Regions from separate parts of the Homo sapiens genome. Here all the other regions are linked to region 1. The links are contacts of gene promoters, found by promoter capture Hi-C in blood cells and fetal thymus (Javierre and others, 2016). All regions are on one chromosome and are shown on one strand. The core of a region is centred on a gene start or on the middle of the fragment in contact, and the rest is flanking DNA. Distances in the headings are between cores, read along the strand shown.

Region 1 (7,553 bases), core at 3,378-5,877:
ACTCACAAATCAGTGTCAACCATGATAGGAAAAACTCTATTCTTCACCATGGCCTAGTCAACATATTTATCAAGCCAAGGAAAGAGGGCATCAGGAGAAACCTAACTTGCTAACAACTTGATCTTCAACTTCCAGCTTCCAGAACTATGAGAAAATAAATTTCTGTTTAAGCCATTCAGTGGTACTTTGTTATGGCAACTCTAGAAAACTAATACAATTACTATACAACAATTCATTATACATTTATACAATTCAGTATGTTACTGTAGAACAACGTTAAAACATTAAAAATGAATTAACCAGGGCCAGGTGCGGTGGCTCACACCTGTCATGCCAGCACTTTGGGAGGCTGAGGCGGGTGGATCACGAGGTCAAGAGTTTGAGACCAGCCTGGCCAACATGGTGAAACCCTGTCTCTACTAAGAATACAAAATATAGCTTGGCGTGGTGGCGCGTGCCTGTAATCCCATCTACTCCGGAGGCTGAGGCAGGAGAACTGCTTGAACCCTGGAGGTGGAGATTGCAGTGAGCCAAGATTGCGCCACTGCACTCCAGCCTGGGTGACGGAGCAAGACTCTGTCTCGAACAACAACAAAATTAAATTAACCATAACTACACGGTTTAACAGCACTGAACTTCACAATGCTGAGCAAAAATGTAAGTTGCAGTAGACCACATATAGTTTGATGCCATTTATAAAAATTTTAAAAGCATAAACAGATTTTTAAGGAATATATACACATATAAACTCTAAAAGTCTAAAGAAATGCATGGCAGGGGTACATACCAAATTCAAGATAGTGGTTCCCAGAGGATGAAGAAAGGAGATACCATAGAGGTGACTACAGGGAACTTCTTTGTATGTGTATTGTTCTTAGGAAGAGGAATGGGAAAAGGGACATCATATTCTTTTTTTTTTTTTTTTTGAGACAGAGTCTCACTATGTTTTCCAGGGTGGAGTGCAATGGCGCCATCTCAGCTCACTGCAACCTCCGCCTCCAGGGTTGGAGCGATTCTCCTGCCTCAGCCTCCCGAGTAGCTGGGATTACAGGCATGCACCACCACACCCGGCTAATTGTTTTGTATTTTTAGTAGAGATGGGGTTTTGCCATGTTGGGCAGGCTGGTCTTGAACTCCCGACCCCAGGTGATCCGTCCGCCTCAGCATCCCAAAGTGCTGGGATTACAGGCCTGAGCCACTGCGCCCAGCTGGGAGATCATATTCTTTATACCTTTTGATATGTATAAAGTCATTAATTATATTTTTTTTTCAGAAAGGCTATAGACCAATAATACTGACTTTTAATTTTTTTAAAACTAGAAGGGCCATAAGAAATGGCTGAATTCAGCCATTTTGTTTTACAGATTAGGGAACTGAAGACCGGAAACCTGTGTAACTTCTTCTGTTTTCTACAAATAGCTAGACTAGAACCCAGATTTCCTGTCTTTTTATTCGAATCAATGGTTTGTGAGCATAGTTCTTAAAGAAGGAAGTGGTGATCACTCAGTTGAGTTTTTAAGCCAATTTCCAATTTCATTTCTTTCTTTCATTTCTTCTTTTTTTTTTTTTTGAGATGGAGTCTTCCTCTGTCGCCCACGCTGGAGCGTAGTGGCACGCGCCTGTAATCCCAGCAATTTGGGAGGGTGAGGCAGGAGAATCGTTTGAATCTGGGAGGCGGAGAATGCAGCGAGCTGAGATCGTGCCACTGCACTCCAGCCTGGCAACAGAAGGGAACTCCGTCTCAAAAACAAAACAAAACAAAACAAAACAAAATAACCACACACATAGAATTAGCTGGGCGTGCTGGCGGGTGCCACCTGTAGGATTATAAGATTACACCTGTAATCCTAACACTTTGGGAGGCCAAGGTGTGGGGGAGGATCACTTGAGGCCAGGAGTTCAAGACCAGACTGGGCGACATAGTAAGACCCTGTGTCTATTTTTTTAAAAAAATTAGAAGATGAGCAATTACTCACAAATCAGTGTCAACCACGATGGGAAAAACTCTATTCTTCACCATGGCCTCGTCAACATATTTATCAACGTTTTGTTTTTTTTGATTGACTGAGATAGAGTCTGGCTCCATCACCCAGGCTAGAGTGCAGTGGAGCAATCTCGACTCACTGCAATCTCCTCCTCCGGGTTCAAGCAATTCTCCTCCCTCAGCCTCCCGAGTAGCTGGGATTATAGGCGCCTACCACTGCACCCGGCTAATCTTTTTTGTATCTTTAGACAGTGTTTTACCATGTTGGCCAGGCTAGTCTCGAACTTCTGACCTCACGTGATCCACCTGCCTCGACCTCCCAAAGTGCTGGGATTACAGGCATAAGCCACTGCGCCGGGCCCTCGAGATTTTAAATGAAGACGAATTAAAGATGTTGGTCAATATTTTGCCCAAATTGAAAAGGCTTATCTCTCTTAACCTAGAGGAGGTTAACTGCAGCTCATCAATCATTGCACTTACCACATTCTTTTTACCTGGACAGTCTGATTCCTCCACTAGACAGATTTCAGGTCTTGTTTTGGAATCCTCTAGATTGGTGCTTGGCACAAGTAGGATGCTCAGCTAATTAATTTTTTTTTTTTTTTTTTTTTTTTTTTTTTTGTAGAGATGGTGTTCTCGCTTTCTTGCCCAGGCTGGTCTTGAACTCCTGGGCTTAAACGATCCTCCCACCTTGGCCTCCCAAAGGGTTGGGATTACAGGTGTGAGCCACTGCACCTGGCCTCAACAAATACCTGTTGATCTCACACAAACTGAATTGCATGAACAGATCATATTCCAAGGCTCCAGGAGACATTAGGAAAGGATCCAAACTAACCAGATGCTATTTAAAAGTTACAAAAAAAAAATTCCTGTTGAAAGTTTTAAAAAATACTAATTGCACAAAAGGACAGGGGAAATAGTTGACAGTGGTTCACCTAAAAAAGCACCCTTGACCTTTTTTTTTTTTTTTTTGTGAGTGAGGTGGTTGCAGATTTCTATGAAAAAGAAGTTAATTCTTCAGCTCCTTAATGGAACCCTGGATCTCCCAGCTATGCAGGAGGTTATGCTAGAAGTAGAACAAAGCGGAATGTACAAATTTAAGGAAGGTTACTGCCCTGTGTTCTTTTGCATGGGTCTGTATCTAGCATTGGGAGCCAGGTTTTGTTGTTGCTTATTGGGAGAGATAAGAATGGTATATACACAAATAACTAAAAAAAAAATACGTGGTAAATGCTAAAAGACAGGTGCAAAGAACACTGAGATGGAGCTTTCTTGGGTTACACAGCCAGTTTTAATGTTTCCTAATATAGAAGAGCTTTCAACAAACCTCTCAGGCAGGCTGTCTTCAAATGACATTACTTCCCCCAAATACCTAATTTCATTTATTTCAGAACAACTCTAAATGTTAGAGGATTTTCTGAGCTTAAAAATACTGCCTTGTAATTTCTATTGGTTTTAGTTCTGCACTTTGGAGAAGAGAATAAGGCTCCGTTATTTCCAATATTATACTATTCAGTTATTTGAAGACAGCTTCCAATTTCTATGCTCAACCCTTTCCCTCTTTTTTTTTTTTTTTTTTTTTGAGATGCAGTTTCGCTCTTGTCGCCCAGGCTGGAGTGCAATGGCGCTATCTCGGCTCACTGCAACCTCCGCCACCCGGGTTCAAACGATTCTCCTGCCTCGGCCTCCTAAGTAGCTGGGATTACAGGTGACCGCCACCATGCCCCGCTAATTTTTTGTATTTTTAGTAGAAACGGGGGTTTCGCCATGTTGGGCAGGATGGTCTCGAACTGCTGACCTCAGGTGATCCGCCCGCCTCGGCCTCCCAAAGTGCGCTGGGATTACAGGGGAGAGCCACTGCGCCCGGCCTCCCTCGTTTATATGCAGGTTAAAAACTCCCTTGAGCCTTCAACTATTTCTTTTTCTTTTTTTTTTTTTTTTTTGAGGAGTTTCGCTCTTGTTGCCCAGGCTGGAATGGCGCTATCTCGGCTCACTGCAACCTCCGCCTCCCAAGTTCAAACGATTCTCCTGAGTAGCTGGGATTACAGGCATGCGCCACCACACCCGACTAATTTTGTATTTTTAGTAGAAACAGGGTTTCACCATATTGGTCAGACTGGTCTCGAACTCCTGACCTCAGGTGATCCGCCTGCCTTAGGCCTCCCAAAGTGCTGGGATTACAGGCGTGAGCCACAGCGGCTGGTGCTTTCAACTATTTATTTGACATGGCTTCAAGCTTCCTTGCCACCCTAGTGCCGCCATCGCTCCGTTTCCCTTCCCTACCACCCTTGGGGAGTAAGGGTGAGGACTGGGGAATGGCAGAGGAAGCGTAGTTTTTCCGAAGAGCTGAAGGCAGCCTGTGATTATGACCTTAGCTCTTCCTCTTCTCTGTTTTCTGATCTCCTAATACACGTCTGTAAATATCACAAGACCCTGCAAGTCCCTCACTTATTATCTCTTCAAATCTGACGACTTTCAACCGTTCGGGCCCCACGACTCTCTCCCCGGACTAGGATCTACTCTATGGTAGTGAGCTCAGCCTTTCTAGCTCTCTAGTCCTCCCATTGCTCCATCTATGGTTTCCGGAGGCCTCACCGGAAGCCCTCGTGTGAGGCCGTGTGGGAGGCCGGAAGTTGCGGCTTCATTACTCGCCATTTCAAAATGCTGCCGAGGCCCTAGGATCTGTGACTGCCACCCCTCCCCCCACCCGGGCTCGGCGGGGGAGCGACTCATGGAGCTGCCGTAAGGTGTGGCTCTTGGCCTTCGTCGGCGGGGTGCCGGGAGCGGGAGCTGGAGAGTGAGGAGCAGGCGGCCGTACCGCCAGTTGTGCGGGTAGCGGGCGGGAGGAGCTTGAGAGGTGGGTCGGGCGGCGTGGGGAAGGCCGCGCCAGGCGGAAGAAGGGCTCGGGGGGAGGGGAAGAGTTGTGGGATGAGGGCTCGCGGAAGATAAAAGTGGAGGTGGGGTGACGTGAAGTAACTTTGGCCAACAGGTGACAAACCTAAAGTCGACGTAGTTGGATTGAGTTTAACTGGACACAACATTTGAGGACTGTTGAGGCAATTTGGAGAAAGGAGGTGGGAGAGAGGGAACCGGGTAGAATGACATTGACGTGTCTTAAGTTTTTAAGTTAGTTTTTAGGTCTGCGGACAGTCTACCTTAGAGGCACTTGAGTGCTTGTTTGAAAATGCTTGTTTTGGCTTGGCGCGGTGGCTCACGCCTGTAATCCCAGCACTTCAGGAGGCCGAGGTGGGTGGATCTACCTGAGGACAGGAGTTCGAGACCAACCTGGCCAACCTGGTGAAACCCCGTCTCTAGTAAAAATACAAAAATATTAGATGTGTGTGGTGGCGCATGCCTGTAATCCTAGCTACTCGGGAGGCTGAGGCAGGAGAATCACTTGAATCCGTGGGCGGGGGTTGCAGTGAGTCGAGATCGCGCCACTGCACTCCAGCTTGGGCTACAGAGGGAGATTCCGTCTCAAAAAAAAAAAAAGAAAAAATGTTCGTTTTGGGGCCACACTGAAACCTACAGACAGTATCGAGATGGGGCTCAGAGAAATATATTTTAATGAGCACACCTCCCAGTGATTTTTGTATACCTTAAAGCTTGAAAACCACAGGTTTTTTTGGTTGTGTTTTTGTTTTGTTTTTGTTTTTTTTGAGTGGAGTTTCGCTCTTTTTGCCCAGGCTGGCGTGCAGTGGCGCGATCTTGGCTCACTGCAACTTCTGCCTCACGGGTTCAAGTGATTCTTCTGCCTCAGCCTCCCGGGTCGCTGGGATTACAGGTGTGCGCCACCACGCCTGGCTAATTTTGTGTTTTATTAGAGATGAGGTTTCACCAGGTTGGCCAGGCTGTTCTCGAACTCCAGACCTCAGGTGATCCGCCCACCTCGGCCTCCGAAAGTGTTGGGATTACAGGCGTGAGCCACCGTGCCCGGCCGAAAACCACAGTTTAAAAGCAACACCCGGAGAAAATGCTGCAGCTCTGTGCTGTTGGCACGTGGAACTAGTATCTGTCAAAGATACTTGGAACCTCTTGGTGTTAAGTATTACTGTATCTCAGTTTAGATTTAGTCTTCTCTCTCCTCATACATTTTTTTTTTAATAGATGGGATTTCGGCCAGGCCCAGTGGCTCACACCTTTAATCCCAGCACTTTGGGAGGCCAAGGGGGCAGGTTTGCTTGAGTCTCGGAGTTCGACACCAGCCTAGGCAACAAACTGAGCCCCATCTCTGCAAAAAATAAAAAAATCAGTGTCATAGAGCGAGCTTCCAGTCCCAGCTACCCAAGAGACTGAGGTGGGAGGATTGCTTGATCCCAGGAGGTAAAGGCTGCAGCAAGCCGGGATGGAGCTACTGCACTCTAGCTTAGGCGACAGCGCGAGAGCCTGTCTCAAAAAAAGAGATGAGGTCTCACTGTGTGCTCAGGCTGCAGTGCAGTGGCTATTCACAGGTGTGATCATTGCACACTACAGCCTGAAACTCCTGGACTCTAGGGATCCTCCTGCCTCAGCCCTCCGGAATAGCTGGGACTACAGGCACAGGCCACCGGCTGCAGTTGGTTTTTTAAGATTCTATAACAATCGTTAATCTTTAATTAAAGATTTAATCTTCCCAGTTTAATCTTCCCACTTTAATCTTCCCTGCCGTCCCAGGTCCTGTAGAACACCTACGTTCTGGATTTGACTTATTAACTGCTTGCTCTCCATTTTCCCTAGTAACTTGCAGTTAGTAGGTAGGTCTAGATTTGGATTATTTATCTTTTGGTCAGGAATACTTAATAGGTGTTGTGCTAGTTTCTTGTTGCTTCATAATCAAGTAGTATATGGTGTGTGAATGACCCTCTTTTAGTGATAAGGTTGGGGATGGTGGAATGGTCAGCCTACTCCACGTGTTTTCTTTCCACCCCAACCTTTCACTCAGATGGCTTTAGCATCCCCTACCCCTGCCACTGGAGTGAAGTGGTATGATCTTGGCTCACTGCAACCTCTGCCTTCTGGGTTCAAGCTATTCTTCTGCCGCAGCCACGCAAGTAGCTGGATTACAGGCGTTGTGCCACCACGCCCAGCTAATTTTTGTATTTTCAGTAGAGAGAGGTTTTCATTATGTTGGCCAGGCTGGTCTTGAACTCCTGGCCTCAATCTGCCTGCCTTGGCCTCCCAAAGTGCTGGGATTACAGGTGTGAGCCACTGCTTCTGGCCTGGAATCTCGTGATGACTGTTGAAGAGGTGACATTTAACCTGAGACTTGAAGGTTTAGGATGAATCAGTTTTGTACAAAACTCACAGTGCTCCAAATGAAGGGACGATTTGTGCAAAGGCCCTGTTTGAGAAACTAAAAGATCAGGGTGGCTGAGGCTCAAGATACGACTAAACAGTGCAAGATAAGAGTGAAAATGTGCTGAGGGGATAGACCACGTGTTTATCTTTACAGCAATAGCAAGCTGTTGAGCAGGGCCTGACACTATAGGATTTTTTTACTTTTTAAAATGCTTTTGGCAGGCTGGGCCAAGGTGGGCGGATCACCTGGTTGGGAGTTCGAGACCAGCCTGACCAACAAAAAGAAACCGCG
Region 2 (7,553 bases), core at 1,708-4,207, 1.5 Mb before region 1:
AATGCTAATTTTCTTTCTTCCTAGCTAGTCATTCCTAGCTGCTTCTCTCTTCTCTCACCTAAAACTATTAGATCCATTCAAAATGAGGAAAGCTCATTTAATTTGTTTCTCTAATTCCATCAGTTAAAATTTTTTTTGGTTTCTACCTGCTTATGATTTTGTTTTTCAGATACTAGGGAGTTCTAAGCATTGCTGGAAATCCCCTGATGAACAACAGCTTGGCTATGGTTACCAGTCTTCAGAGGGTCACCTAGGAATTTGCATGGCAACAGTCAACAATGGTGGGAGAGAAAGGCCCTCAGTGTAATGCACCTGTCCCGCCGGCAATCATTCCCAGTTTCTTCGCCACTCGGGGTTCTGGTGGAGATTTCTTGTTGGGCTGAATGTTAAAATGCCCTGAGAGGTCAGGTGAAGAGAGCAGTGGAAGAATAAAGTCAATACAGCGAACTTAGAAAACAAATGCAGAGTTGAAAATATGCCTGAGGCCAGTTGAGCAGCTGCTATGACATCTGATCCTGGAGCTTGGGTGGAAGCTTGAGTTGAGCCAGCCCTGACAATAATATAGTTGAGGGACAATGGGGCCAGGGCTATCTGTGAGTCAGTTCAGCGCCACACAATGTATCAGCTGCTTCTGGCAAAGTGTCACTCCCTGGTGAAGGAGACAGGCACAGAGCCAGGTGTGAATCTATTTTCCCAAGTGGCACACAGCAGCTCCAGGGACTTGCTAATGCACCCAGCTGTTCCCATGGGAAGGGCTGAAAGCTATCTCTGGCTCACTCCACAGCTCACCCAGGGGGGCAAATTTTTGAAGGTGGGGAAGAGGGGCACATGTTTGCTTTAGTAATCTCCACAGCTGCCATGGCTAGGGAATTCAAGTGGAGGAGGAACTGCTTCCTGTGGCAAATGGGGCTGAGAAACATGCCTTTCTATTGTATCAGCGCTATGTTTAGAAGGAAGGGCGGCCCTGGCCCTTACGTGCATACACATGTGTACACACAGCCATACTGTGCCAAGAGGACTATGGGAACTGATAAAGTGGGAGACAGGCTCAAGGAGAAGACAGGTCATTACCTTTTCCAGTGTAAGTGAGCAACCCGCTTGGCCCCCGAAACTCCACCACATCCCCAACCTTCAGGCTATCCAGGTACTGAGACATCTTCCCTCCCTCAGGAAATTTGGGGTGCACACCCTTCAGGTAGACCTTACAAGACAGAGAGAAAAATACCTTATTTGGAATGTCACTGGTTTCTGAGCCCCATGTTGACTAAACCTCCCTGAGGCTGGGGCAGGGATCAGATATGTGCTATCTTTTCCCCGTCTACATACTTTCTTTCTTTCTTTTTTTTTTTTGAGTCAGAGTTTTGCTCTTGCTGCCCAGGCTTGAGTGCAGTGGCGCAATCTTGGCTCACTGCAACCTCCGCCTCCTGGGTTCAAGTGAGTCTCCTGCCTCAGTCTCCTGAGTAGCTCATACTTTCTTCACATCCACAGAGTACATACCATTTCCTGCTGTCAGGCAAATCTTAGAAATTTCTACAAATCCCAGAAAGAATGGGTAAGCAGCCCCTGGGTCCCTTCCTAGCCCCTTACCTTGATGACAAGATCCACATAGCCTTGATCCTCATCACTGGTGACAGGAGTGTATGGCCTGATGACCAGGCTGCCATCAATTCGGGTGGAGAGGTAGATATGTTTGCCTGGGGACCGTGCAGAGAGCTACATAAGGGTTGTCTGTGATGTGCTGCATCCCTCAAAATACTCAAAGAGATTTGAGAGAACAAGATGTCTTGCTTCCTGCTGTGGTCCCAAGGAGCTACAAGGCAGGGAAGATTTGCCCCATTGAGCCCTCAGTTGGATCTCTTATAAGCGCCCAGTTGAGGAAACACTTATTTCCAGCGTTTCCTGCCAGTTACTGCCAGGACCTTGACAGATGAGCCAAAAGGGTCTGGGCAATGGGAAAAAGTTAGTAGTGCTTGCTCAGAGGGAGTAATTAGCAAATCCTGCAGGGAAGAGGCAAGACTGTTGAGTGTTAAAGCTGGATGGGGGTCATGGAAGCCACACTCTAGAGGGGCCCAGTGGCACCTCACAGCTTGGAGGATGCAGAGCCAAGTGGGGGAAGGGGAATGGTGTGTGGAGCAAACCGGTTGAAGCAGCGTGTTTCATGAGATCCCAGGAGGGGAGTCACCTTCTGAGGATACCAGGGAAAGGAGCCCATTCCACACTTTCCTTACCCACAGGCAGCCCCAGAGTGTGGTGGGCGGTGGGCAGGGCAAAGCGGAACCTCTTGGTGTTGTGGCTCACAGTCTGGAGGGTGGAGGACACAAGTGTTTCACCAAGCGCGCCTGGCGCTGCCACGTCCCTTGGACATCCCAACCACCGTGGGTGCTGTACCCTCCATGCCAGGAGCACTCTGGTCCCCTCCTTCACCCTGGCCCTTTCTTCCCCAACTTACCGTCTTGTCTAGCAGTCGTAGCAGGTACTTTTCATTGGGGTCCAGGAGAGTGACCTGAGGCCGGCGGGACCTCCGAACCAAGTAGGAGCCCACAGCCAGGCCGAGCAGAGTGACCAGCCCCACCCCCAGGGAGGCCAGCAGGACGGGGCTCTGTGGGTAGAGGAGGCAGCGTGACCGCCAGGCTGGGTAAGAGCCCGGGGCTTGGGTGGTGACCGTCCCAGGGGTGGCGATCCCGAGCTCCAGCGCGGAGGCATGCCAAGGGCAGAGGGGTAACCTGGCGGAGTCCCGAGCCCGGATGTGCGGGATCGGGACCCCAGCATCCACGGTGGGCCCAGAGCCCTGCGGGGCGGGGTCGGCAGCGACAGCCCCTGGTCCGGAGCTGAGTGGCCAGAACCAGATGGGGAGGGGTCCCCCAGTGGAGGATACTGAATGAGGGTCTTACCGTCTGGATCCCCATGACGGAGCGCCTTTTCCTCCACCACCTGACAAGCCGACAGATCCCACAATGCGCCGCGGGGCGGGTCGGAGGGCGGGGCAGGCCGGGGGCGGGGCCGGGCAGGAGGCAGGACCTCGCGGCTGGGGGGGCAGGAGGCGGGGCCTGGCGGGGGGGGGGGGGGGTGTCTGTCGGGGGCGGGGCCTAGCAGGAGGTGGCGGCGGCGGGGCCTTTTGGGGGCGGGGTCCGGCAGAGGCGGGGCTGGGCCCCTCTGCGCGCCACCCTTTCCCTCCGCTACTCGGTGGCTCAGGGTCTCCGGTGCTTATTCAATACTTTTTTTTTTTTTTTTGAGTCGGAGCCTCGCTCTGTCGCCCAGGCTGGAGTGCAGTGGCGCGATCTCGGTTACTGCAACCTCCGCCTCCCAGTTTCAAGTGGTTCTCCTGGCTCCGCCTCCCGAGTATCTGGGACTACTGGCGTGCGCCACCACGCCCGGCTAATTTTTTTTTTGTATTTTTAGTACAGACTGGGTTTCACCGTGTTGGTCAGGGTGGTCTCGAGCTCCAGGGCTCAAATAATCTACCCGCTTCGGCCTCCCAACGTGTTGGGATTACAGGCGTGAGCCATCGCGCCCGGCCCCAAGATCTTTTAAGACCGCAGCTCCAGCCTCTCCTCCCAGCGAGGTGGTCCCTGCCACTTCGACCCGCTTATATCCGAACTGGATGGGAGTTCTGCCTAAGGTAGAACCACGCTAAATTGGGGGATTGGAAATCTCTTGAGTCTGCGGGTGCTGAGCGGAGAGTGTAACGATGAACCAGAGACAGGCTCAAAGTAGAGCAGAAGGGCCTGAAGTTAATCATTGTGCAGTCACCTTAGTTTTTCAACCGGCTGAATTGCAGCAAGAGAATGGAACAGCCCAGAGGAGTCTCTTACAGGAGTGAACAGTGGCATGGCAACTTCATTTCCTTTTGACAAAAGACTGATTTTGTTTACAGCGCCAAGCCGTCAGCCTATCAGGATGATTCAGGAGCTTCCTTTGGTTTCAAAGACCAAGCTTCACATCCTGATTTGGGTTCTTGTGCCCTTAGGGTCAAAGAAGTGGGCTTTGGAGGCAGAGTGTACAGAATAAGAATCTTGCCTCTAGCACTTATTGGCTCTGTGACCTTAGATAGCTTACTCAACCTGAGTTTCTTCATCTACAGATGGATATAAGATGGATATCTACAGATGGATATATATTATTATCTACAGATAGATTGTATCTAGTTCATAGCTTTGGTGTGAGGCTTCAGTGAGATATGTTAACGTGCTTAGTGTAGTGCCTGTCATAAAGCAAAATATTCAACAGTTGGCAGCTACTATTATAACTTAAAAGACAGCACAGAGGGTCAGCTATGGTTTTAGGAATGAGCTCTGCCTGGGGCACAAGCATGGGACAGGAGGAGGCAGGAAAAAACATCAGGAGCCGCTGGAGCTACAGATTTCCCAAGATGACCATTCTTTCTCATACATGAGTTTCTCAACTAGAATGACATTTGCTCTTTGATATACCGTGATGGATGAGATCTCTGCAGATGTCAGTGTCAACATCTTAAACTAATACCATCAGGGCAGCAGGGACATTAGAGCCCCCAGTTTTCAGTTGTATTTGGTGAACTCTGTGAATGATCCAAGAGATACTTAGTTTTCCTTTTCCTCTCCACTGGCTGAAAATGTTCCTAAGACCCCAGTACATGTTCCTCTGAATTTTTTAAGCAGCCTGCACACTGACTTGAGGGAAGTGAGTGCACCAGATCATGGTGACATGCCAATCCATGCAGAGAGGGTTGAAAAGGGGAAGGAAGGGACCCTTCCTCTTTTCTGTTCCGAGAGAATGAGGCGATTATGTTCCGGTGCTTCTGACATCCCCACTGCTGGCTTGGTTAAGAAGCCACACTACTGATCCTTGCCACTGCTCCACTCTGGCTAAAGAGGTTCTAGGCCTTCCTCCCTCTAGTGGATAGATGTGGCAAGAGAGGGGGAAGTATGGAACGAAAGGAGAGCATAACTACAACTCGGGCTTCTCTCAGTGATTGCATTTTCTGAACCCCAAAGTGGCACATTCTAACAAGTGTGAGTGTATCACTGGGAACCACAGGACAGAATGGTTGGGTGTGGGCTTATCCTGGAAACTAAGTGTTGGACTCAGTAATTGTGGGAAGGCTCTTTTGCTCCTGAAAATGAATGCTGCAGGAGTGGTGGGAAGGGGCTGATGGCCTGGCAGGTCTTCCTGTCTCAGATTCTGTGGTGAATTGAACTCCACTCCACCACGACTCATGGTAATCTTACATTACTCCTAGTTTGGAGGAAAAGATAGGCATTTCTGAATTTTTATTTAACCCAATCTTTTAAGTTTAGGATTTCCTCCTGGGTATACAATAAAGAATAGAACAGGCTGGGTTCACGCCTGTAATCCCATCACTTTGGGAGGCTGGATGGATCACTTGAGCCCAGGAGTTTGAGACCAGCCTGGGCAACATGGCAAAATCCTGTCTTTACAAAAATACAAAAATTAGCCAAGTGCGATGGCGCTGGCCTGTAGTCCTAGATACTAAGGAGGCTGAGGTGGGGGTATTGCTTGAGCCTGGGAGATCAACGCTGCAGTGAGCCATGATTGCGCCACTGCACTCCAGCCTGGGCAATAGAGCAAGACCCTGTTTAAAAAAATATATATATATAATGTAGTGTGAGGGGGAAGTAGAATTTCAAACCTGTGTTTTATAATTCTGAATTAGGATGTAAAACTCAGTGGCCCTTTTTAGATAAGATATCCAGAAAGAAGCTTGGAGGAAGACTTGCTCATACTGAGGAGATGGCATGGAGGAATCAGACCAGGAGATGTAATAATGACAAAAAAATTAACATTTATTGAGCATGTGCAATATAGCAAGAACTAGGTAAATTGCTTTTCACGTATTCTGACAACATCCATTTAATCCTGACAACAACTGTGAGATAGATATTATCATTAGTAGTCTCATTTTATGGAGTGGGGGGAAACTGAAGTTTAGGACAAGTAAGTCACTTGCCCAAGATCACCTACTAAATGGCAAACTCAGACTGCATACCAGGCAGCTTGATGTTGAAAACTAACAACCTCACACCCTTTTTGAACTTTTCTTTTTTTTTTGAGACGGAGTCTTGCTCTGTCACCCAGGCTGGAGTGCAGTGGCGCAATCTCGACTCACTGCAACCTCTGCCTCCCAGGTTCAAGTGATTCTTCTGCCTCAGCCTCCTGAGTAGCTGGGATTACAGGCATGCGCCACCATCCCCGGCTAATTTTTGTACTTTTAGTAGAGACGAGGTTTCACCATGTTGGCCAGGCTGGTCTCAAACTCCTAACTTCGTGATCCGCCTGCCTCAGCCTCCCAAAGTGCTGGGATTACAGGCGTAAGCCACCGTGCCTGGCTGAACTTTTTAGTATGGAAACTATCAAACATATACAAAAGTAGACAGAACAGTATAATAAAGCCCGACGTACCCATCACCCTCTTCAACAATTATTAAATCATGGTCACCTTTCTTTCATTTCTTCCCCAGTCCGTTCCTTCCTCCAGTATTATTTTTAAGCAAATCCCATATTTTTTATAACTTTGTCCTTAAATATTTTAGTGTGTATCTTTAAAAGCTAAGGACTTAAAAATAACCATAATACCATTATCACATGTAAAAATAATTAACAACAATTACTTAGTTTCATCAGATAGCTAGTCAGTGTTCAAAGTTCCACCTGTCTCTTTTTTTTTTTTTTTTTTTTGAGATGGAGTCTCACTCTGTCGCCTAGGCTGGAGTGCAGTGGCATGATCTTGGCTCACTACCAGCTCCACCTCCCAGGTTCACGCCATTCTCCTGCCTCAGCCTCCCGAGTAGCTGGGACTACAGGCGCCCGCCACCACGCCTGGCTAATTTTTTGTATTTTTAGTAGAGACGGGGTTTCACTGTGTTAGCCAGGATAGTCTCAATCTCCTGACCTTGTGATCCATCCTCCTCGGCCTCCCAAAGTGCTGGGATTACAGGGATGAGCCGCCGTGCCCGGCCTTTTTTTTTTTTTTTTTTTTTTGAGATGGAGTCTCACTCTGTCACCCAGGCTGGAGTGCAGTGGCACGATCTCGGCTCACTGCAACCTCTGCCTCCCGGGTTCAAGAGATTCTCCTGCCTCAGCCTCCTGAGTAGCTGGGATTATAGGCGACTTCCACAGCGCCCGCCATGGCGCCTGGCTAATTTTTGTATTTTTAGTAGAGAAGGGGTTTCACCATCTTGGCCAGACTGTTCTTGAACTCCTGACATTGTGATCCACCCGGCTCGGCCTCCCAAAGTGCTGGAATTACAGGCATGAGCCACTGCGCCTGGCCCCAGCTGTCTCATTTTAAATTTGTAATTGTCATACATTAAAATAGACTCTTGGGCATACAGTTCTGTGAATTCTAGAATATGTATAGATTTGTGGCACCACTATAATCAGGAAATAGACCAGTTTGATCACCCTGCAAATCTCCCATATGCTATCCCTTTATGGCCACATCCTCCCCTTACCTTTAACTCCTGGTTATCACTGATGTGTTCCCTGTCAATACACTTTTGCCTCTTTATGAATGTCACATAAATAAAGTCTATACAATATGTAAGCTTTTGAGT
Region 3 (7,553 bases), core at 2,308-4,807, 1.3 Mb after region 1:
AAGTGAAGATAAAAGCAGTCGCTTTTTTTTTTTTTTTTTGAAACAGTTTCCTGCACTCCTGTTGCCCAGGCTGGAGTGCAGTGGTGCCATCTAGGCTCACTGCAACCTCCACCTCCCAGGTTCAAGCAATTCTCCAAAAGCAGTAGCTTTTATGATAGGGTTGATGTGAGGATTAATGAGTCAGTGAATTTAAAATACTTAGAAGAATGCTTGGCACATAGTAAGGATTCACTATTTTTACTGTATCTATTTTCTGGGGATCTTGTTTTTCACCAAGGTCAGCCTTAAACCTAGAAAAAGCACCCTCCCCTGCTGTGGGAGTGTCCACCTATAGTCTGGACAATCCACCACCTTGCCAGCCCCTCCATCCACATAGAGACTGCTCCAGATCTATTCAGGGCAAAACATCTACAAAAGCTCTGCACCTATTCAGCTCATGTGTCCTCAGAGCAGCTCAATCATTCCAGCTTCAGAAAAACAATTTCTGGCTTTGCTGCCCCATTTTTTCCTCAGAGCTTTCTAGTTAAATCAAAATTTCTTCCCTTGTTCCTATCTAGCCCTCCCACTTTACCTGCAATATCCCACAGCTGAAGCCGCACTATCTCGTAGTCAGACCACTGGAGAACCTTCAGAGCAAAATCCACTGAAAATATATGTACATTATACTTTAATAAAATTTCACTGTAAAAAATTAATAGGGATAAACTCAAATCAAATAGGCAGTGAAACCCTATGGACACACAACTCCAATCCCATATGTTTAACTTTAAGCCCTCAATTCACTGAGATGAGTCCACATGCGTGTATTTAGTGTGAGATGGATGATTCATACTCACTCTCCAAAGGGGTTTCCAGCTTTTACTCTACTGTCAAGCTCATTTATTTGCTACTGTTTGTCTCCAAGACTGGGGGTGGGAGTAACTATGAAAACAATTCTCATTCTCAGGTTAAATAGTTTCTGGGAGATTTAGGGGGTTTTCTCAGGGAAGGGGTGATGGGGGAGAAGGGGGAAATGAGACAAGTGTGGTTGCTTTCGTATCTTCCACATTCAATTTCACTGTTGGTTTCTAATCAAATTGTATTATGAAAAGAACACACCCTGGGGAACTCTACATCCACCATAAGGTTGCAGGTATTATCTTGGGCAAGAATGGAATAAATGGAAAAGGTCCCAGAGGAGTCCCAAGAAGAAGACACTGTGTGGATGTTGCTGAAGAGTCCTGCTGGAATCTACCACCAAGTCTGCAGGTGCTGAGACTCCTTAAGGCTGAGTAAGTATTCCATGGGGAAAGCCTTTTGGCTAAGGAGAGAAACAGAGTAATTTCTGAGGTTTGGAAATATTATCTTTCACATCTGTGACAGGAATCAAAGCTAAGGGAAATTTAGACTAAACACTGAAAAAAAAATTAGCCAATTATATTCTTTGCTAAAGGAAAACTACAGCAATTGTTAAAAATTAACTATTAATAGCAGGCCACTTTTAACCCAAATCCGTGAAATAGGGACCCTTATATTATTTAGGAGTGGGAGGGCAGAGCGGTCAGGATAGAGTGTCTGAAACTTTGAACCTTTAATTTTGCCAGACTTAAATTTTTTGTTCCTTTGTTTTTGAGACAGGGTCTCACTCTGTTGCCCAGGCTACAGTGCAGTGAGTGGTGCGAACGGGGCTCACTGAAGCCTCGACCTCCCCAGTTCAAGCAATCCTCTCGTCTCAGTTTCCCGAGTAGCTGGGACCACGGCTACTTTCTTCTTTAATTTTTGTAGAGGTGGGGGTCTTGCCATGTTTCCCATGGCTGGTCTCGAACTCCTGGGCTCAAGCAATCCTCCCGCCTCAGCCTCCTAAAGTGCTGGGATTGCAAGTATGAACCACGGTACTGGGCCCTACTGGGGGTTCTTAAGGAGAATGTTTTAATTGCAATGTAAATGTTTGTTAATTTCTTTTTAAACTTCCATATGAACAGGAGCACACATTTTCAATTTTTCCATTGGTACGAGTTTTCCCCCCTTGAAACAAGTTCTTTTAACAGAGAGAAATAAAATTTTAAGTTACTCTCCCCCATCACCAGCTCTTCCTAGCTAAATACCTTCTAATTAACAATAAGGCATTTCTGCCTCTGAAAAAATAGTTGAGTCCAAAGGCCACACCCGGGAAAGAAATGAATGAACTCGGTGTCCCCTTCCTCCCTACCTTCTCCAGTTTGAGGAAAAAAGTGGTGGGAAGATAGGTCAGAGAAGTGGTATATTTCACATTCTTGGAAGAATTCCTTGGTTACCTTTATTTAAGCAATCAACGGACAAAAACACAGCTCATCAGCCCTCATGGGCATCTGACTGCGTAGCCAAGGGGCTCGTTCGGGGATTTTGTGTCTTCCATCCCACCCACAGCCCCACAACAAAGCTACAGTCCTTCAGACCAGTTCCGCTTCCTGCGTTCTCCCACTGAAGCCAGGTTAAACACCTTGCGGTTCCTCCCTCAACAGAGGGGCAGGACTACAGCCCCAGCCGGCACCTAACCAGGAGGCCCCACAGAGGATCTCAGCTGCTTCTGCTGATTGGAGAGATTTGCCGGACAGCTGAAAGGCTGGAGACTTAAGTTCACAGTACGCCTGCAATAAACAGCAATTGCTCATCCTCATCCTCCCTTCCCTATTTCTCATCTTCACGCCTTTGCTCTTACCTTTCTCCTGGCAGTGGGCTCAGTTTGGGAAAATCTAACGGGAAACTCAAGAGAGGCGTGTAAACCAAACACCCGGCAATTACACCATCTAGGTTCCCAGACAGTACTTCCTGACCCGAAGAAGGACCCAACAACCGACAGCAAATCCCCACCCCACTTGGGTCCCCAGCTCGAGTCCGCGGTCGGGGCCTCCTCCTCCCCCTCCCCCTCCCCACCCCCGAGACGTCTCACCTCCCACCGTGGACTTGTAGTGTTTGCTGAAGCTGTCCTGGGAATATCGCTGCACCAGCGACGTCTTGCCCACTGCGGCGTCCCCCACCACCAGCACTTTGAACAGGTGGTCGCGGCTGCCCATGGCTAGCGGGGTGTGCGTTTTAGGGAGGCGGGAAGTGTGGTCGGGGATCGGGGGTCGCTCGTTTTAACCCCTTTGGATCCGGACCCTCTTCAAACTGAAGTGAGGCATTCCCACCCACCGCCTGTCTGGGCTGCTCTGACGAGAAAGCAAAAAAGGAAACTTTGCACTCAACCTATACGCGCTTCCTCCCCGGGCGGCCGCAACCTGGGTGGGGCGCAGGGCGCGAGCTCCGAGCCCCCGGCTGTTCGCACCTTCCCCACCCCCTCCTGGCCTGACTGCCGAGAAACTGGACCAGGCGCCGCGGAACCTCACCCACCGGGACTTCCCCCGAGCGGCTCCAAGTCAGTGACTGAATCCCAGTCAGCTCCTTACACCACTGGGGCCAGATGATGGGGACCCTCCCCTTGCAGCACAAACCAAATTGTGAGGAAGGAGCAGCCGGCACCTCGATTCCCTAGACGCCCTCCCGCGCGCCTCTCTCTCCCCTTCCTCCGCAAGCGTCACGTGCAGGGTTGCCTGTGGCACTACATTTCCCAGCTTTCCTCGCGGTAAAGAGAACCAGCCGAGTGCGGAGGCTCACCGCGAAGCCTCCTGGGAAATGTAGTATATTCGTTATTTTGTTTTAAGCAAACCTACACCAAGTTTCAAGGCTTCAAACTCCCTCGACAGTTTGGAATCTTATTTTGAAACAATTCTAGGTCAGTAAAGATCCCTTAAGGGGAGATTTGTGCAACGTGATCTCACTGGCCTGAATCCATCCCCAGATAGTTTTCTCCTGTCTTTAAAGGTTTAACTGAGTTAAGATTGAAACTTATTTCATTAGTAAAAGCCCAAGCCTCATCCATCATGCTCCAAGTGAAGTCCATTTCCTATTCCTTCAAGTAGATAGACAAGCCCAGGACTTTGTGAAATGACTCATATTTTCTGTGTGAACTTGCCCAATACCAGGCAAGTTCAGGAAAACTTGACCCAAGAGACCAGTCTTTGGAAAAAAACCTATGCCAAAAATTACAGCATTTAATATCCAGCAATAACAATAAAGATGGACAGAAAACAAGAGACAGTTCTCCATTCATACTTCTACAATGCCTATTCTAGCCATACTACTCATGTATCACTTGAGCTAGAAGCTAATTGAAATACACTGGGACTCCTTCTTGATTTGTTGTGGCTGTTGTTAATAGATAATCATAAAACTAGTGTTTGGCAAATAATTTTAATTTCTCAGCCTGTAACTTTACTGACCTACCTGTCACTTGGGTAGAAGTTGGCAGGACATGAGCTCAATGGCAAGCAAAGAGAGCTCCATTTTCTATACTTTTCTAGGAATAGAGGAAGAGAACCAGCGGGGCCATGGGAAAACAGCCCAGGACCAGACACTAGGAAATCTAGGTCTCTTGATAGAGAGGCTATCACTTATGTTTTGTGGCGAAAGAACATCAGCATGGTTCACAATATATTTTGCCCAGAATGTTCGTTACCCAGGTACAGGAGGTTAGTTCAAGCTACTCATCTTTAAGGATCCAGTTTTCTCTGTTCTTATTCGTTTTGACATAGTTGACCACTCCTTGACATTTGTTTCCCTTATGCCTTCTATGACGCTGTTCTTTCTTTGTCATCCCCGTACTTCTCTGATGATTATCTTTTTCTTTCAGGTTTCTCTCCATCCCATTTCCCGCTAAGTATTTCCTAAGGCCTGATTCTTGGTCTCTGAGTCAATCATTCGATAAACTCTTTAGTGAATTGTCCTTGGTGTCAAAGATCTATCTTCACTTTATTTGTTCTTTATCTCTGATCAGTGATATTCTGTCAAGACCAGCTCTGTTGGGGAGACCCTAACCCAGTGGCGCTAGAGGAATTAAAGACACACACACAGAAATATAGAGGTGTGAAGTGGGAAATCAGGGGTCTGATTTCCTTTAGAGCTTTTAGAGCTGAGAGCCCCGAACAGAGATTTACCCACGTATTTATTAACAGCAAACCAGTCATTAGCATTGTTTCTATAGATATTAAATTAACTAAAAGTATCCCTTATGGGAAACGAAGGGATGGGCCGAATTAAAGGAATAGGTTGGGCTAGTTAACTGCAGCAGGAGCATGTCCTTAAGGCACAGATCACTCATGCTATTGTTTGTGGCTTAAGAATGCCTTTAAGCGGTTTTCCACCCTGGGCGGGCCAGGTGTTCCTTGCCCTCGTTCCTGTAAACTTACAACCTTCCAGCGTGGACGTTAGGGCCATTATGAACATGTTACAGTGCTGCAGAGATTTTGTTTATGGCCAGTTTTGGGGCCAGTTTATGGCCAGATTTTGGGGGGCCTGCTCTCAACATGTCCCTCTTCTCTGATTTGCAAATTGATAAATGCAAAGGCAGCTTTGTCACGGTGAGCTACTTCTCGCAGGAGTCAGGATACACATCTGCAGACTATACAAAGACAAACAACACAGATTAAAAGCACAATCATCATTGAAATCACAGAGCTTCCAAGTGTTTTTATCCATTTTCGGCTCCTTTAAGCACTCCAGTTCCTGGCATTAAGGTCAAGTGTGCCTCGGATGCTTTAAATATTTCTTCTTTTAATTTTAAATCCTTATGTTAAGCTCCTAGAGCGGGCCATATCATTTGAGGTTGAGGTGTCACTATACTGCCATGGTTCCAGATAATAGGAACTCTTGCTGTACTTCTTATTATATCTACCATCTGACCATTTTGTTCAGACCAGCTGAACATAGTGTGGCCGTGGCACGCAGACTGAGAGGTGCAATTCAAGCTAAACATCCCCTTAGGGGACCAATTAATAATGATTCCATAGGAATCATTGTGCAGCATCTCTGCCTGTTCTGCAATGCAATCTTCCTAAACAAGTACGTTCATTTTTTCTAACTGGGTCCAATCCTGTTTACAAATAAGTTTTTGAGGGCGGTATGCCTCAATTATAGGAGCAGATTTATTATGGTAAATACTGAGATCAGAAAGCATGTGTAACTGCGTCATAAAGTGATTGCATCCAGGCATTATTGCCAGCCAAGATTGATAAATATACCCAATAAGTATAATTGTTCTCTGTGTCAGCCCTTAATGAAGGAATACTCACGGCACTGGTGATAACCGCTATCATAGCTACCATTAACACTTTATTTGTTCTTTATCTCTGATCAGTGATATTCAGCTGCCCAAAAGGTGCCCCCACTTGGATGTCCTGCCACATCCTTCCTCTTACTACATTGCCATAAAAATAGCTCCTTTTCTCAGCTTCCCTATTTCTGTCACTGGTCTCATCATTTCTTGCCTCCATGTAGACTTCAGATTCTGAGCATTATTATTTCCTTTACACATGTCCCTTTATACCTATTTATTTGTTTGTTTGTTTATTGAGATGGAGTCTCACTCTGTTGTCCAGGCTGGAGTGCATTGGCATGATCTTGGCTCAGTGCATCCTCTGCTTCCTGGGCTCAAGTAACTCTTGTGCCTCAGCCTCCTGCGTAGCTGGGACTACAGGCGCATACCACCAAGCCTGGCTAATTTTTGTATTTTTTTTGTAGAGACAGGGTTTTACCATGTTGGCCAGGCTGGTCTTGAACTCCTGACCTCAAGTGATCTACCCGCCTCAGCCTCCCAAAGTGCTGGGATTACAGGCGTGAGCCGCCGCACCTGGTCTATACCCTTTTAAAAAAAATTCAGTTACCATGTCTGATTGATTGTTTCTTCAGTAAATGGTTTCTCCCACTCATCCTCTCTGCTTCATATTCAGTAATACTTTCCTTTTTTTTTTTTCTCCAACTTTTATTTTAGGTTCAAGGGGTACATGTGCAGGTTTGTTACACGAGTAAACTGCATGTTGCGCGAGTTTGGCTTACAGATAATTTTGTCACCCAGGTAATCAGCAAGTAACACTTTCCTAGTTCAGGCTTTCACCATCTCACACCTGGATTCCTGCAGTAACCTGTTTATTGGTCTCCCTGAATTTATTTTCTTTTTAACTCACCGTCTACAACTGGACAGGATGGTTTTCCTAAAACACCATTGTTTGTTCTTCCTTGTCTACCAACTGTCTTTCAAAAAAAAAGGCCAACCTCCCTGAAGCTGGTGTCCAAAGCTTTCTATGCACCTGCCCCGGCCTACCTAACCAATTTTATCTCACCCGACTTCAAATGGGAGTTTCCTTCTTCCAACAAGGTGAGGTTCCTTATGCTCTTTTAAAGCCCAATGTCATTTTTGATTTTCTGTTTTTGTCCAGGATGCATCACCTTTCAGAATACTCTTCAGGTTTCTTTCTACACATCTAAATCTTACTTAAATATTATTAAGAAAATCAAAAGGAAGAGAAACTATATTATTCACTAAGTGGGAGTGGATTGTCTTAAAGGTCACCGAAGGTTCTAAAATTTTAGTGTGCATAAGCATCACCTACCTGGGGTACTTGTTAAATACCCACATTTTGATTCTGTAGGGCTAGGGGGTGACCCAGGTTAATCTGCATTTTTGACAAGTACTCATGTGATTGCTACACCACATTCCACTT
Region 4 (7,553 bases), core at 3,367-5,866, 1.2 Mb after region 1:
TTTCCTAAAATGTTTTAAACAGCTAAAAATCAATGTGTATGGAATGTATTCACCATTGAGGAGATATTAAAAAAAACCTGACCATCTTCACACTGAATACTAGGCAAGAAAGATTAGTACCATGGAAAAAAAATGCTAGTTTTGTATTCAGATCTGAGCTCAAACCTTAGCTCTGCTATCATAGCTCTGTAACTGTAACATATTCTTTAAGCTTGTTTTGTCATGTTACATGGTGATAAAGAAAAATACTTGTTACAGGGTTGTAATAAGGATAAAACAAAGTGAAAACCTCTAGCACAGTTCCTGACTGCATTTTTTCTCAATGTTTGTTGAAAATGAAAACATTTTAAACATTTAAAATGAAAATTTTAAACACTGTAATTTTCAGGTAATTAATTACATGTATGTTGAGCAAAAGTGAATACTTTTCTTATAAAAGTAACTTTCCGGCCGGGCGCGGTAGTTCACGCCTGTAATCCCAGCACTTTGGGAGGCTGAAGTGGGTGGATCGCCTGAGGTCAAGAGTTCGAGACCAGCCTGGCCAACATGGTGAAACCCTGTCCCTACTAAAAATACAAAAGTTAGCTGGGTGTGGTAGTGGGCACCTGTAATTCCAGCTACTCTGAGGCTGAGGCAGGAGAATCACTTGAACCCGGGAGGTGGAGGTTGCAATGAGCCGAGATTGCACCATTGCACTCCCGCCTGGGCAACAAGAGGGAAATCCCATCTCAAATAAATAAATAACTCCCCCATTATTCAGGCATTGTAAATTATGTATCTTTGATGGCATGTCTTTGAAGGAATTATGTCTTTTTAGAGGAAACTGACAGGTAATTTTAAAAAGTATAGATCCAAGGTTAATAAACTCACTTCTCTCTCTCTCTCTCTCACACACACACACACACACACACACACACACACACTAGAGAATAAGAGAATGAGCCAGTCTCATCTACAACCATATTAAACTTGTGTCTTCATGTGCACATTTGGTAACACATTTTGAACTACCTTGAATTTTCAAGTTTCTAGTTTTTCTCTTTAGCTGAGGACTTCTTGAAACCAATTGTTTTGGGGGAGAGAATATTTTTAGAATCCAGGCATGGCCCAAACAATTCTCTTTGAAAAGAAAGCAAACTGGAATCCTGGGAAAGCCGTTAATTCTCAACACTACTTATAAACATGACAAACAATAAAATAAATTCTATAACAACTTGTAAGAGCTTATGTTTTCACATCTAAATTTTCAATGGTAAGGTTCCTTACAATCTCAAGTGTTAAACAAAAGGTATCAAGCACACTTAGGTTACAAGGAGAAGCAAAAAGATTGGTTTGAGCAACCTGGATCACTTTCAATAAGGGAGGAGGATCTCTGGAGAGTGTAACAGCTGAATTTCAAGAAATCTGGTTTCTAGTTTGGGCAAGTCAGTAAATCTGAGCTTTCTTTCTCACCTCTTACAAGTAATGGCATTTTCCTTCCTTCCTCACAAAGTTGACTCATGAAAGCACTTAAAAAAGTTAAAAATGTTACATACTATGTTCTTTAATCAGCACTAATAACATTAATATTGATCGGGCAGAAGGTACAGCGATCATGCGGGTGGGGACCAGAATTGGGAATTGGGAATTGGGAAATCTAGGTTCTCAGCCCAACATTTGCACCTGCTAGTTCGTGATGCAAGGCACCTCACTTATCCAGGTCCCCATTAAACTAGGTTTAATAAAGTGAGTTTGCCTAAACCTCTTCCTAGCTCCAAGGCTAATTTTAAGCTATTAATTTGAATCCAAGGCCTAAAATATTTGAGCTCTCATTTAACAGTCGGCCACTGCAAAGGGTAAAGACAGCAATCTTGTATGAACAAAGTTAAACATAACGTGCTAGACACAGGTCTTTGCAAAACCATGCAGTAGCCAATAGGTCCACCATACCACCCTTCATTTGGAAATTGATGCTAAGGTGCCATAGGTACATTTCCAAATGCTCTTAAAATGTTTAGGTTCATATTAAAATAAAAATGGATATTTATGGTACAATGAGAACCAGAAAAACTGCAAAATTATACACAGGCCTAAGGGCAGAAATACCCCAAAAGACGACACAGTGACAATATTTTCCAACTTGTGCTTTTTTGTTTTTAAAACAAGGCTGATGATTCTGAAATCAGGTCAATGTCTATCACTTTTTTCGTTGATGTTAAATGCACTAAGGGAATATAGATTCTTCAATTATACTTTGAAACAACATCATTTCCCTAAGTCAGGACTTTTTTATTGCAAAATTTAACAAACCACCAAACTCAAGTTTAATTATTTCTGCTTTATTATTGGTCATGAATAAAGACTTCTTTTAAAAAATAATTACAAAGAATTTATGACTAAAATATACTCCGTAACCAACTTGCTCTGAAATTAATAATTTGAAAATGGCAAAGAAAAAAAAAAACAGCCCACAACATATTAACTTCACTCTTCAATTAGGGGAAATAAACAAGGTCAAAATTAGTTTAAACAACATACTGAGTAATAAAAAAGTTGTGCAGAAGTCCCAATGCCTCCAAAAAACTGATAGAATGTGCTTAATATATATATCCCCACATGGTAACATAAAAAATCCAAGTTTTCCAGTAAAAATGTTCTGTTCATGTTCCAATACCTAAATCTGGGAAAACAAATTCAGGCAGATGAGATAAGAACGTCACCACAATAAAATAAAGTCATCAAAACTTAGTGAACTAAAATTTAAAAGGTAGAGGAATTATTTTTCCTAATTTGACCTAATTTGACCACACAGTAATTACTTCCAGAAGACAAAAGATCCAATCCAGGTAAAATAAATCTTTATTTTATTATTTTACCTGATCCTAAAGAAAATATTCTACGTGAGTTGATGGATACATTGGTCAAGTTTTATGCCAAAAAAATTACGCAAACTATACTCTGAAAGAGCTATCCAGACTCCTTGCCAAAAGGCCAGCATAACTTTCAGAGTAGAGATCGTGAGTTACCACAGATGCTGATTGAAACAGAGCTAACAGCAGCTTTCTCCTCATTCCCACCCCGTGTGTAGGAGTACGCAGTCTCATACCACCACCAGTTGGAGGATGATCTAGTCTGGAGACAGAACGGTGTAGAACAAAACCCTTGCCAGGGTCCCAAACCTCTCTTTAGAACTCTAATTAAAGGTACTTCCGTTTCCCACACAACTTGGAATGAAGGGGAAGCAACGACTGTTAAAACATTTAAAAACTAAGCCTTTATCTATTTATTTAGAAAACACACTATGCAAAGAAGCCAATTCCTTACATTAAAAATATTTATTTGCAACAGCTCTCCTTTTTAAGGCCTCAACAGATTGGACTAAACCACACCCCTCCATAAATGGCACATTCCATACAATAGCCTGGAGAATGGCATAGGACGATTCCACCGACAGCTGGGGGAATAGCAAACTTGTTGAAATTCCGAGAATGAAGTCTGATGGTTACCCGAACCTAGCCCTTTTATTACTAAAGTCACTCGGGGACAAGAGGGTTACAAAAATATCCCGAGACGCGTACGCGGGTGAGAGTGGAACGAGAACCACACGGGATTTGGGCCGTGCTGTTAACCCGCACCTCCCTGAGTACGGACATTTCCCCGAGGAAGGACATTTCTAGTCGGAGAGAAAGAGCGAACTTTGGGGTTAACTCTCTCAAAACTCTGAGGTGGGGAGAGAGGCAGCAGCCCATTATTTTCCAGGATCCAGTCCCGAACTCTCACTTTTGCCCGGGGGGAAAAAAACGGGTCCCGCCCACGCTCGGCCCGATCCGGGAGGCGGGGCCTGCAGCGACCCCGAAGGACAGAGGCGGGGCCGGTTGGCAGTGCTGCCCCTCCCCCTTTGCCAGGAACACCCCCGTCCGCTACAGAGAGGGCTCAGGGCCCCCACCCCCGCGCCAGTCGCTGGGGGAAGGGGCAATACGGGTGCCTCCGCCCCTCCTCGCTGAAGGTGGGGAGTGGAGCTCGAGTCCGCCCGCCTCCCCGCGCTGGCTCCAAGGGGACGGCCCCGAGGAGGTGGGGCCTCTTGGGGGCGCTGACTTCACACCCCTCCCCCTCCGGCCGCTGGCGGCTCAGGGACACCCCGCCCGCTCTAGTGCGGTGGGTGGGGGAGGCAGCTGAGCAGACCGGAGCCCTGCAGCGGCGCGGGGCGGGGAGGGGCGCGCGCACGGGCGCGCAGCCACCACCCCCGCGCGCCAGCAGGGCCCCCCACGCTCAAGGGTGCGCGCGGGCCCCGAAAGGGAGGAGGCCGCGCGCGGCACCGGGGATGGCGGACTCTAGCCTTCTGTCCCCCACTCTTTTCACCACTCGCCCCCATCCCCCTCCAACCCGCTCCAGGCCTCAGACTCCGCACTGACCTGACAGGCCGCGACATGTTCGCTGTCGAAACAGGACCGAGTCGAGAAGCCAAAGACCAGGACCCCCCCCACCCCGCGCGCTCGGCGCCCCACCCCCCCCGAACTTCAGCCGATGGGACCGCTGCTGCCGAACCCCGAGCTGCTGGCTTCTCAAACTCCGCTGCTCTTTGGTTCAGGGCTCCTGGAACAGACGAGCCCCCCGCTCCCCCGTCTCTTCAAAATGGATGAATCAAACCAGCCGAAAATGCGCCAAAGCCGCCGTGCAACCAAACCCACTAGGGTTTGTGCGCTCCTCCCCAACACGCCTGCTCATTGGAGACTTCTGCCAGATGCGCCCAGATCATTAGTCCGTTTGAATCATCACGTCTTCCAGGCCCCGCCCTGCTCTCTGATAGGCTCCACCTTCACCGTGGGGGTCCTGTTAGTCAAGATGCTCTGAGAGCGCACGGCCGCAAAACAAAAATGGTCGCTGCTTAGCCCGCCCCCTGGTTTCCACTCCAGAGTTGCAGATTCGTCTGGGGTCGTATCTTAGAAAGACTAGAAAAAAAGATTTATGTAGGGTTCAGCGTTGCTCAGTGTTAGTTTAATGGTGTTTCATCTCGTCTGCCTTGATCACCTTGAAAATCCTCTAATAGCAAAACCCGTGGGAGAGGCAGCAGATTCGTCACTGCGGGGCTGCTACAGAATTGGAGGGAAATTCCTTAGGTTCAAAAAATTTGACCTTAAACCTACAAGCCCCTTACCCTGGCTTCGGCATTAACCCTCAGGGACCAAATGAGGCTGCTGGAGTAGAGAGGCAGGATCATAATCAAGGAATATCTTCACCCCCAATTACCATTCTCCATTCTGGACCTTGAGATCCACTTCAGGGTCATTAAAGTCCCAGTCTGGTGCATTACTATTTTAAGAAAAGAGTCAGGTGTACAATAACTAAGAGCATGAGCTCAGGGGCCACAAGGTATTTCAGGTGGAATCCCAGGTCCACTACTTAATGGTGGTATAACTTTCCTTCTCTGTGCCTCAGTTTTCTCATCTGTAAAATGGGAAACAAGGGTACCTAACTGCATAGGCTTATTAGTATTAAATGAGTTGATATATCTATCAAAAGTCTTTAGGATAGTCTCTGGCTCACAGTAAGTGCTACGTAAGTGTTAAATCCAAGTTTTAAAAGATGATTCCGTCCCTGGGTAGAGATGGGTGGAGCTGGCTCAAGACCCTATGAATTCTATTGATTTACCCTTGCACTTTGAAAAACAAAACAAAGACTCTTCGAAGTCATATAACTGAAAGTAACGCACATCATTTCACTTAAATCCGTGAGCATTTGTTGGATGCCTAATACTCTCAAAGGCAGAGCTCAGGATTCCTATGTGAATGGCTAAGGCTGAGTCTGCTATCGAAAATAGACGTCAATCCCTGTCACAGTCAAAGCGATCATTTTTGTTTGGTGGCTGTGCGCTCTCAGAGCATCTTGACTAACAGGACCCCACGGTGAAGGTGGGGCCTATCAGAGAGTAGGGTGGGGCCTGGAAGACGTGATGATTCAAACGGACTAATGATCTGGGCGCATCTGGCAGAAGTCTCCAATGAGCAGTCAGTTAACAACCAATTGAAGATACACTTTCCAAACAACAACAACAAAAAACACACCACATCTGCCTCCTGAAAGTCTCCCTTTGTAAAATCTGGCTTCCCAAAAAGAAGAGAATAGCACAGTCCACCAGTGAAGCATTAAACAAATTAATATCTTTTGTCTCTTCCATGTCATTCCACCCTCTGTCCCTCTTATTTTTATTTTTAATTTTTATTTTTTCGAGACGGAGTCTCACTCACTATGCTCCCCAGGCTGGATTGCAGTGGCACGATCTCTGCACACTGAAACTTCCACCACCCGGGTTCAAGCGATTCTCCTGCCTCAGCCTCCCAAGTAGCTGGGATTACAGGCGTGCTCCACCATGCCCAGCTAATTTTGGTATTTTATTGTGGAGATGGGGTTTCACCATGTTGGCCAGGCTGGTCTTGAACTCTTGACCTCAAGTGATCTGCCTGCCTTGGCCTCCCAAAGTGCTGGCATTACAGGAGTGAGCCACCGCACCCGTCCCCCGCAATTTTTTTAAATTGTGGTTAAAAAAAAAATACATAACATAAATGTACCACTTTAACTGTCTCTAAGTGTACAGTTAAGTGGCGTTAAGTACATTCACATTGTTATGCAACCATCACCACGATTCAACACCAGAACTTTCTCATTTTCCCAAACTGAAACTCTGTGCCCATTAAACACTAACTCCCCACTTTCCCCCTTCCCCATAGCCGCTGGCAACCACCATTTTACTTTCTGTCTGTATGAACCTGACTGCTCTAGGAATCTCATGTTAGTGTAATCATACAGTATTTGTCCTTTTGTGACTGGCTTATTTCACTTAGCATAATGGCATCCAGGTTTATCCATGTTGTAGCAAGTGTCAAAATTTCCTTTCTCTTAAAGGCCAAATAATATTCCACTGTATGTATATGCCACATTTTGTTTATCCACTCATCCATCAATGGACACTTGGGTTGCTTCCACCTTATGGCTATTGTGAATGATGTTGCTGGGCAAGTGGGAGTACAAATATGTTTGAGTACCTGCTTTCCTTTCTGGATATATACCCAGAAATGGAATTGCTAGATCATACAGCTATTCTGTTTAATTTTTTGAAGAATTGCCGTATGGATTCTCCATCAGCTGTATCATTTTACACTCCTACCAGCAATGTGCAAGTGTTCCAATTTCCCCATGTCCTTGCCAACAGTAAGTTTTTTACAATAGCCATCCTAATGAGTGTCCATATACGGTTTTTTTTTTTTTTTTTGAAACGGAGTCTCGCTCTGTTGCCCAGGCTGGAGTGCAGTGGTGCGATCTCTGCTCACTGCAAACTCCGCCTCCCAGGTTCACGCCATTCTCCTGCCTCAGCCTCCCAAGTAGCTGAGACTACAGATGCCCGCCACCACGCCTGGCTAATTTTTGTATTTTTAGTACAGACGGAGTTTCATTACGTTGGCCAGGCTGGTCTCAAACTCCTGACCTCAGGTGATCCACCCGCCTCGGCCTCCCAAAGTGCTGGGATTACAGGCATGAGCCACCACGCCCAGCCTTTTTTTTTTTTTTAGATAGAGTCT

Evidence for each region. Contacts are between HindIII fragments. The CHiCAGO score rates a contact against its expected background, and 5 or more counts as called.
Region 2: the fragment with the promoter of CYB5R1 here is called in contact with the fragment with the promoter of MDM4 in region 1 in 6 of 17 cell types (naive B cells, naive CD8 T cells, non-activated CD4 T cells and 3 more); the score reaches 9.3 in naive B cells.
Region 3: the fragment with the promoter of RAB29 here is called in contact with the fragment with the promoter of MDM4 in region 1 in 2 of 17 cell types (total CD4 T cells and activated CD4 T cells); the score reaches 5.3 in total CD4 T cells.
Region 4: a contact is called between the fragment with the promoter of NUCKS1 here and the fragment with the promoter of MDM4 in region 1, in 3 of 17 cell types (activated CD4 T cells, fetal thymus and naive CD8 T cells). The highest score is 6.5, in activated CD4 T cells.

The regions. Positions count from the first base shown.
Region 1 is chr1:204,511,779-204,519,331 of GRCh38, forward strand. It overlaps MDM4 (MDM4 regulator of p53), which reads left to right and starts at 4,628. Exons shown (of 11, transcript NM_002393.5): 1 at 4,628-4,731. RefSeq lists enhancers at 3,110-4,021, 3,882-5,081, 4,022-4,932, 4,371-4,500, 4,511-4,590 and 1 more. The HindIII fragment of the contact is 1,369 bases long and covers 4,219-5,587 here.
Region 2 is chr1:202,964,300-202,971,852 of GRCh38, forward strand. It overlaps CYB5R1 (cytochrome b5 reductase 1), which reads right to left and starts at 2,958. Exons shown (of 9, transcript NM_016243.3): 1 at 2,892-2,958; 2 at 2,450-2,599; 3 at 2,229-2,301; 4 at 1,588-1,694; 5 at 1,072-1,201; 6 at 313-396. The coding sequence starts at 2,906. RefSeq lists silencers at 2,866-2,915, 2,986-3,145, 3,762-4,056. The HindIII fragment of the contact is 3,400 bases long and covers 532-3,931 here.
Region 3 is chr1:205,771,925-205,779,477 of GRCh38, forward strand. It overlaps RAB29 (RAB29, member RAS oncogene family), which reads right to left and starts at 3,558. Exons shown (of 6, transcript NM_003929.3): 1 at 3,349-3,558; 2 at 2,909-3,162; 3 at 572-643. The coding sequence starts at 3,032. RefSeq lists an enhancer at 2,423-2,472. The HindIII fragment of the contact is 8,570 bases long and covers 1-7,125 here.
Region 4 is chr1:205,745,566-205,753,118 of GRCh38, forward strand. NUCKS1 (nuclear casein kinase and cyclin dependent kinase substrate 1) reads right to left here and starts at 4,617. Exons shown (of 7, transcript NM_022731.5): 1 at 4,392-4,617. The coding sequence starts at 4,408. RefSeq lists a silencer at 3,791-4,390 and an enhancer at 4,811-5,060. The HindIII fragment of the contact is 8,985 bases long and covers 210-7,553 here.